Linked DNA regions of Homo sapiens: regions 1 and 3 are each linked to region 2. Evidence: promoter capture Hi-C in 16 types of primary human blood cells and fetal thymus (Javierre and others, 2016). All regions are on one chromosome and are shown on one strand. Each heading gives the region's core, a stretch centred on a gene start or on the middle of the fragment in contact. The rest is flanking DNA. Distances are from core to core; before and after follow the strand shown.

Region 1 (3,088 bases), core at 364-2,863, 49 kb after region 2:
TATCATAGTTTTAGTACTCTAAATCTTTATGCCTTAAATTACTTATAAACAAAACTCCTTGATTCCAATGAGTCCAGTTTTAAGTCAAGAATAAAAATAAATTTTGGATATATGAAGTTGCCTGACATAGGAGGTGATATAAGTTATCTCCTTTACCTGTTCCAATACTGCATTTCTTAGGCTTCTTCCCCTGGCCAGTTTGAGGAATGTGCACTCAAAAGTTCTATCAGGATCCTGTTTATGTTCAATGGAGCACACAGAAGGCTTCTTGAATCTGCAGTTCTTTATGCTTCAAGTAATACCAAGCAAAACTCCTTCTCAGTGTTGAAAGAGAAGTTACTATAAATTTGCATGATTATTTCTTTGTACCTCCAATCAATTAAAATTTACTTTAACTTGCTTTGAATGGAAATCTCAAAAGGGAATAACTTTGACCAAAGTTCTCTAAAAGTAAACTAATGTAATTAGTCCTTCAAGGCTTTAGGGGGTGAGACGTTTGAGATTTGTCATAGAGTATGAACTGTACTTCTTCAAAAAAAGATAGAGCTACTTCTTGTGTACAGAAGTAGTAGAAAACTTGTTACTGTATTTGAACTTTAAGAAATTCTCTTAAGCTAGGTAGTGACTCAGTGAGGCCTTGGGTATCTTGACGATGTAATGAAATTATAACAAATATATCCATATATATTTATCCATATATATATGGATATATATTTATCCGTATATATATCCATATATATTTATCCATATATATATGGATATATATTTATCCGTATATATATCCATATATATATGGATATATTTGAATATATATATATGATCAGTGTTAATTTGAAAATCCAATCTTTTTTTTTTTCAATGAGCATTGAACATTGAGTCACATACTAATTATGGTATATAATACTTGGCATGAACTTGGGTAAGTTACTTAAATTCCTAGCTTCAGTTTCTTCATCTGTAAAATGGGTTTCATAGGATCTTTAAGAGAAATAATTGTGTATAATTTGCACCCAGGTGATCAACGGAGATGAGAAAAAATATTTGAATCTTGCTCATTATCAAGAAGTTCAAATAAAAATTATCTTCTCATTTATATACATTCAATAAGCTCAAAGTATCTACTTATCAAATTATCTGCGTACTTCACCCCTTTCCCACCAAAATGTTGAACTTGTAGTTCATCAAAACCATACTGTAAACTGTTATGAGTTTACCTTTCTAGACGTGGTTATATTGAAATATTTTGCATGCACTGAAGTGTAAAATGAATGAAAAATGTTGGATTAAAAGAGATTCAATAAAAATCTAAAGAATATTTAAAAGCTTTATTAATGATTGTCTAACCTTGATTGGAATTTTAAAATGTGAAGTTATGTCAAAATGTGTAGTAGGGATTTTTATTTGCACTAAATTATGTTTTTTTCTCCTTCCCTAGAAGCCATTTTATGCTACTCTTAGGACATCATATGCTAAAGATATTATGGCTTAAAATAGATAATGGACAATGTTACACTGATGAGAATTATCTGTGTAAAGAAAGTTTTCAGTCATTCTAGGATTTCCAAACCTTGTCTTCTTAAATATGATAGAATGGTAAGTTCAATAAAAACTATCCATGTTCTGTGGGGAAAGGGGGTCAGTGAAGAGCCAGCCTTGCTGTCCTTTTCAGGAATTAGATAAAGTGTGCCTTAAGAGTGTCAAATACAGGTCTGGGCACTATGGGCACACTATTTCCACCTTTATTCTACCTTTCCTGCTGGGTCAACTTGCTACAGAACTGGGAGTCAATCCTGGAGTTCTAGTCTAAAACTCACTTCCTAAGCACACCTGGTGATTTTGTAAGCACTTAATTCTCTATTCTTTCTTGCTTAAAATAGCTAAAATCATTTCCGTTTCCTTCACTGAAGCTTAAATAATATAAATGCCAATGAGGAGGGACTTCTGTGAACTATGACAATAATCATCTTATCCAGAGGATATTTTGGTGTCCTACTTGTTCTGAAAGCTTCCCCTATAGAACAGCCAAGAAACAAGAAATGAGTTCAAAATAGAGTGCTCATTAACACATCTAATGATATCTACATTCATCTTGAGAAATAATGCCCCTATGTGACAATACTTCATCTTAGGAAAAAAAAAAAAAGGATATTAATCTGAGAGGGGTTTGGTATCATTGTTATTTTTTAAAAAGTGGATTTTTAAAAATTTTCTTTAAACATTTTTTACATGCCTACTTAATATGGTTAATCCATATGAATGGGTTAGGAAAAACTGAAATGTCTACTGATTAACTGAGTTACCTCAAAAACTAAACTGCAGCATTAAATTATTCTAAGATGTTACCCAAATCGAGAATATGTGTTGAATTACATAAAGTATGTAGCATTCCAGATCCTTTTCTTGAATCTCTTCTCCTAAACAAGATAACTTATTGGCTGTTTAAATGCTCTTGTGGAATGTTTCTTATCTTTTCCTTTTTGCCATCAAAATATACCTTTATTTGTTACATGAGTAACATAAACATTAAAAAATAGTGTATTATTGATTTTGCCACAACACTCCCAGAACTATTAGCAACTTAAAAAAAGTTAGAAGTGACGAATAAGAGCATTACATATTGATATAGGGGTCAATTCAATAAGAAGAGCTAACTATCCTAAATATATATGCACCCAATACAGGAGCACCTATATTCAAAAAACATGTTTTTAGAGACCTAAAAAGAGACTTAGACTCTCACACAATAAAAGTGGGAGACTTTAACGCCATACTGTCAATATTAGACAGATCATTGAGACAGAAAATTAACAAAGACCTTCAGACCTTGAACTCAACTCTGGATCAAGTGGACCTGATATATATCTACAGATCTTTCCACCCCAAAACAACATAATACACATTCTTCTTGGCACCACGTGGCACTTACTCTAAAACTGATTACACAATTGGAAGAAAATCACTCCTCAGCAAATGCAAAAAAAAAAAAAAACCCTGAAATCATAACGAACTGTCTCTCAGACCACAGCACAATCAAATTAGAACTCAAGAGTAAGAATCTCACTCAAAACCACACAACTTCATGGAAACT
Region 2 (3,183 bases), core at 340-2,839:
ACACACTCTCGCTTACACACATGATCATAACAGGGATTTACTTCACTAAACATTATTCATAATATGTATAATTCACAGGCTGGTAATGGGTATCTAGACTATAGCTGAAGTTTTGTGTTTTAAGCATTTGACTCCAGTAGGCCTCTATGCAATAAGCTTGCTTGGACAAGTATAAGTAGGATTGATGGTTATTTATAATATTTGATTTTAAGAATAAGCAAGAATATTGTGTGTTACATATCTGCTCTTCTAATACCATAAGCTTCCTCATTCATGACTGATTTCCCCTGGTTAAGAATTGATCTCATTTTGTTATTTATCTAGTAAGTGAAAATCCTCTCCTGTAAGTTGGCCTATTTTAATCAGCATTTCAGATCACGATCTTCTAGACAGGAGAGAACAAAGTGTTCTGATTGAACTAGATGCTGGGTAGGAATGAGGATGATGCTGAAAAAAGTAAATTCTACTCTAAGCCGGTCATTGCGATAGGCCCTAATGAATGAGAAATTGTCCCTTGTCTCAACGGCGGGGGGGCAATTCCCAAAGAGCAGGGAAGACAGGCACAAATACATGTATGGGGGGACAATGTTAAAGCAGAGGTCAGTACACTGGGAGAATAGTTAAGGGAATAGGAATGGTACCAAAGCACTTTTCCCAAGGAAATAAATTGACATTAAAACATGTTTTAATAACCATCCAATATGAATGGGGGAAGGACCATGCTTTATTTATCCTGGCTCCATCTCCAGAAATTTAGTGTCTTTGACATGGTAGACACTATTGATTATGAGATAATCTGAAGTGGTGTCACAGTTTTCCCCAAAGGCAGATCTGAATATAGCTGTTTGCCCCTGAAAATGTGGAGGCTTTAAGTGCATGTGTTATTTTAACAGAGCCACAAAAGGCTCACCCAAGGATCACCAGGCACATTCTTCCAGATGTCCTGGAAAGCCATTAGAACAGACTGGAGGGCTGGACTCAGACTCATTCCTCTGACTCTTCTTCCATCATTAGCAGACACTAGAAACACTGAATCTACTGCTTTCATCCAAGAAACACTTCAGCTATTCCCAGTGTTCTTCACATATTCCTTAGGTTTTCTACTTCTCAGTTCCTTTGCTTATGCCTTTATCTACGTCTTGAATATTCTTTCATATCCTCTCAGCTTAAATGGATCCTCCCCACCTTTGAAGGCATATTTTACAATCTACCTTTCCATGAAGATCGTCCTTATCGCTCTAGACAGTAATGACCTGTTCCATCTCTGACCTCAAAGTCTACCTACTGCTTATTATACCAAGCACTGTCTATGATGCCTCATTTGTTCAACATTTTAAAATGCAAGCCATGTGTTAGACCATGTATCTTCCCCGACTGAATGGCAAGGGGCATTAGTGTGACTAATCCATGTTAGATTCCCAAAATGATAGGCCAGTTCATGGATAGTTCTTACAAATACATAGGCTGCTGTACCTCAGGAGACAAGAAACCCTTGGGACTACTGGTCTTTATATTTCTTGACACAAAATACCTGAACTGAGAATAAAAGTCATAGCTTCTTGTTAGCTGTTGTCACTCAGACACTTAAAGAAGAAGGTAAAATCAATCCATCTCTACTCCTGAAGTGATGAGGTTAGGAGAAAGAAGAGATACTCACCTACAGTCTTCAGGAGGAAAAAGGTGAGCTTCAGAATTATGATGTTCATATTATAAGTATATTAAAATGTGTTCTGAAATCAATTCCCGATTGTCCCCATGGGTTCTCGAGCTGCATGTTTGAGGCCACTGAGTCACAGAAGTTTAGGGAAGAGGCCATAGGCATCCATCTCAGACTCATTTATGCATTGTCCAGTCACCTTACCTAAGTATCTTGTGTCTAATATATGAATTAATCTGTGAAATCACCTGCTTTAAAAATATATTTACAAATATATTTATGTGAACCTTATAATATGTAAAATACATTCACAGTTATTGTCTCATTTGATTTGCATAACAATCTTTTGAAGTATTTATTATTTTTTACAGATTAAAATATGAAGTTCAGAGAGACTTTATGAGTCAAAGGTTGCACTGTAAATCTTAGAAATGAAAATGATACTGCATCTTATAACTCAGGGTTCATGGTCTTTCTGTTACCTCTGTACTAATGGTTTCTTTCTTTAAAAGGGGACAATTCAGATTTGAAAGATTTAGGGAAAAAGATCACATTCTAGACTTCTGTTGTCCAGTAATATAGCCACTAGCCATAGGTGGCTACTGAGCATTTGAAATCTGGCCGGGTATAAAATACACTATGGATTTCAAAGATTTGTATAATAAAATAATGTAAAATATCTCATTATTTTTAAAATATGAATTATATGTTGAAATGATGTACATGTACATCATTTTGCATGTACAGTTGGCCTGTGTGTCTGTGGGTTCCACATCTGTGGATTCAACCAATGGCAGATGGAAGATTTTTTTTTAATGGGTGGTTATATCTGTACTGAATATGTACAGACATTTTTCTTGTTATTCCCTGAACAATATACTAAAAGAAATATTTACTTAGCATTTACATTATATTAGGTATTATAAGTAATCTAGAGATGATTTAAAGTATACAAAAGGATGTGCTTAGTTAGGTTACATAAAAATACGACACCATTTTAAATCAGGGACTTGAGCATTCAGGGATTTTGGTATCTGAAGGGGTCCAGGAACCAGTCTCCTATGGATATCAAGGACTGAACTGAGTTAAACAAAACATACTAGTAAAATGTATTTTATCTTTTTATTCTGACTTTTTACAAAATGAACTTCTAGGATGTTTTAAATTGCCCGTGTGTCTGCATTATATGTCTATTGGGCAATGCTGATCTAGCATTTACCTTTGCAAAATACTTTCAATAGTCATAGTTTTAATAATACTGTGAGATGCATTGAAATGTTTAAAAACACTTTTCTTATGATTTTAAATTGCTAAAAACCACCTGAGTCCTGAATGAGGTCTGAATCAATGTAGTAGATTATTTTGGTCAGAAATACAACCTCATAAATTTGTATCCCTAGGCTAGTCAAGTTTACTGTTTATCGGTTGGTTAAATAAAGTAGATGCTGGTTATCATTGCTTACTTTTGTGTGGACTAAGATGGAATGTGTATAATTTTTCTTCCTACAAATGCAAAAACAGAATAC
Region 3 (3,202 bases), core at 384-2,883, 60 kb before region 2:
GTGATAAAGCCAGGCTCAAAATTTAGGTTTTTTGATTTTAGTTTTGTATTTTTCATTAATCCATGATATTGTGAATGCACAGTGGTTCAATCATAGAGTTCAGGGAATGTCATTTTCTCTATGGCTGAATTGTCTCTTCTAAACTGTGACTACAGTACTTTGCCTCTGATGCGGCACTGAGCCTATTCATACCTTCCCATATGCCTTTGATTTTCTGGTGTCTAAATCTGTCTTTCTCCACACTGAGCTAGAGATGAAAATAACCATTCTGAGCAGAAAAGCTTGGTTAAAGTTTTAAGTTCTCCTGTGCCATGAGGACATAATTTTGCTGACTGCTTCTTTCAAGACTGCCTTTACCTTTTCATTTCTTAGACTATAAGTGAAGGGATTCAGAAGAGGGGTCACCATTGTGGGGACAGCTGTCACCTTGTCAAAACCCATTGAATGACTCTGGCTGGGCCTCACATACCTGAAGATGTTGCTTATATAAGCGATGGAAATGACGGTGATGTGGGAAGCGCACGTGGAAAAGGCCTTCCGACGTCCTTGGGCTGAGGGGATGTGCAGGATGGTAGAAATGATGTAGATGTAGGACACAGTGGTGAGCACCAGTGAGGTCAGGAGGATGAGGGAAGATAAGAGGAAGTTTATCATCTCGATGAAATGAGTGTCTATACAGGACACATGTAGCAGAGGGGTGATGTCACAGAAGAAGTGACTAATTTCCTTGTAACAGAAAGGCAATCTGGACACCACAATGGTTGGGCACAACACAGACAGGAAGGCTCCAACCCAGCAGCCCAGAACTAGTAGGAGGCAGGCCCTGCTGTTCATGATAATGGTGTAGTGCAGGGGGTCACAGATGGCCACGTAGCAGTCAAAGGACATCACTGCCAAGAGGATAAACTCCACTGTCCCCAAGAAAACAAAGGAAATAAGTTTGGGTGATGCACCCAGCAAAAGATATGGTCTTCTTGTCCTGCAGGAGACAGGCTAATAGCTTTGGGATAACTGAGGTGGTGAAAAAAATGTCCAAAATTGACAAATTACTGAGGAAGAAGTACATTGGGGTTTGGAGGCGATGATTCGCACATGTTAGGGAAATGATGGCAACGTTTCCTGTTAGAGTAAGCATATAAGTAAACAAGAGGACTGCAAAAAGGGAAATTTGAAGCTGCTGAAGAACAGGAAAGGCCGTCAGGGTAAACTCAGTCACTGTGGTCTGATTTTGGATGTCCACTGCAGGCAATGCCTAGTGGGAAGCACATCTCTGAAAAAAAAAAGATAAAATGCAGAGATGATGCTCAACTTACGGAAGTTTTCAACTCCCAATATCTGTGATAAGAGTGAAATAGAAAAAACTTTGTGTGAGGAGTCAAGAGTGATTCGTTCACAGTCTGCTTCTGACTTTATTAAATGTGGTCCCTTGGGTAAATGACATTACTTCTTCTAACTTCAGTATTCTCATATTTCAAAGTTTTGATTGAATGAAATTATCCTCATGGTCCCTATAATTCTAGTCTTTATGATTTTAGTCTCTTTTACACAATGCTCCTTCCTGTCTCTTTTTTGCTCTTCCTGACCTACTACTTTCCCAGCTAAATTCTGTTCTTAAAAAGAGAGGCATACTAAACTGAGAATCTGGTCAATTATTTGAAAAATTGAGAAAAAGAAGGTTAATAAAACTTGAGTTAGGCCCGGTGAGGTGGCTCATACCTGTAATCCCAGCACTTTGGGAGACCGAGGTGGGCGGATCACGAGGTCAAGATATTGAGACCATCCTGGCCAACATGGTGAAACCCTGTCTCTACTAGAAATACAAAAATTAGCTGGGCACGGTGGCGGGTGCCTGTAGTCCCAGCTACTCGGGAGGCTGAGGCAGGAGAATTGCTTGAACTCAGGAGGCGGAGATTGCAGTGAGCTGAGATCACACCACAGCACTTCAGCCTGGTGACAGAGTGAGACTGTCTCAAAACAAACAAAAAACAAAAAAAACTTGTTACTTTTCTCAAAGTTATTTCAACTTTGAAGATATCTTCTAAATCAAAGAACAGAAACTGTTAAAACTGGCCAAGACAGTTAAATCGAGGGGAGTCAACATTTACCTCTACTCATTTTTGTTATTGTTACCATGTTTTGAATATCAGTGTAATAGACAATTGGACACAAATTACTCTAATCAATCAGTCTTTCCCTACTTAGTTTTTCTTTGTTTTTACTTTATATAATAGAAATGTTTTGATGTCTACACTGTTATGGAACAAGTAGGTCCATGATACATAATTCATAATCTGTGTAACCTATTTTAAATATTTTGAAAAAAATCTGATGGAAAAATGATTATTTGTTGTTATTTTGTTGTTTGTTGCCATGTTACATTCATGGCAGCATCCAAAAGAACAACAAACGTTTCCCCTTTCCTTCTCCAACTGATTCTTACAGGTTTTCCCAAAGAAGTCTTTTATACACGGCATTTTTTTCCCAGCCATTTGAAGAGTAGGTTATTAATAATACTGCAAAAAAGTGGATGCCGAAACATGTATTTGATCTATCGAAAAGATGTATATGAAACACTCAGCTTAATCTCTGAATACTGCCCTGCTTCACCGAAGATCTGTTTCATGTCTATGTAATTCAGCTGAAGCACTGTCCTCTGGTATATTATTTTGTGACCAGTGCTCTAGTTTCAAGTTAAAACAACTAATTTATATCTCTGAACTAGGTAAATTTTTTAACGTGGTGCACACAGAATTCCTCTTTAAGGGAGGCCATTTCCTCAGACTCTCTACCTGGGAAAAGTGACCTGCCAGAAGCTGTTACTATTATTATTTTTTCATTTATTCATTCTTTTAATTAACACATAGTTTTCTTTAGCATATGCCGTGCATCATGCAAATTTTCAGGTGCTGGAGCTATATCAGAGGAAAACAAAAAATATAAAGCAAAAACAAAGCAAAAATGTTAACAACAAAAAACTTCCCTTATGAAGCTTACAGTATAGTTAAGAGAGACAGAAAATTAGATAAATAAGTAAAATAAATGCTATGATCTTAATTGTGGTAAGTCTCAGAGCTAAGACATTTTTTCTAAACATATTTCCATTTGCAAATCTGGCTGTGACTTTTTCTGGTTCTTGTAGTTGCTTCTTTATTTTTATTCACTACTCATTTTTTCATGAATCAAGGTATCCTTGTTATTTTAA

Evidence for each region. Contacts are between HindIII fragments. The CHiCAGO score rates a contact against its expected background, and 5 or more counts as called.
Region 1: a fragment that was not itself captured here is called in contact with the fragment with the promoter of OR8D4 in region 2 in 1 of 17 cell types (neutrophils); the score reaches 5.7 in neutrophils.
Region 3: a fragment that was not itself captured here is called in contact with the fragment with the promoter of OR8D4 in region 2 in 1 of 17 cell types (neutrophils); the score reaches 5.3 in neutrophils.

The regions. Positions count from the first base shown.
Region 1 is chr11:123,949,436-123,952,523 of GRCh38, forward strand. No RefSeq gene overlaps it. Among named protein-coding and RNA genes, the nearest start is that of OR6T1, 7.1 kb to the left of the region's middle. The HindIII fragment of the contact is 584 bases long and covers 1,322-1,905 here.
Region 2 is chr11:123,900,578-123,903,760 of GRCh38, forward strand. OR8D4 (olfactory receptor family 8 subfamily D member 4) reads left to right here and starts at 1,590. Exons shown (of 2, transcript NM_001005197.2): 1 at 1,590-1,680. The HindIII fragment of the contact is 7,569 bases long and covers 261-3,183 here.
Region 3 is chr11:123,840,661-123,843,862 of GRCh38, forward strand. It overlaps the pseudogene OR6M2P. Among named protein-coding and RNA genes, the nearest start is that of OR6M1, 36 kb to the left of the region's middle. RefSeq lists an enhancer at 69-1,268. The HindIII fragment of the contact is 2,708 bases long and covers 280-2,987 here.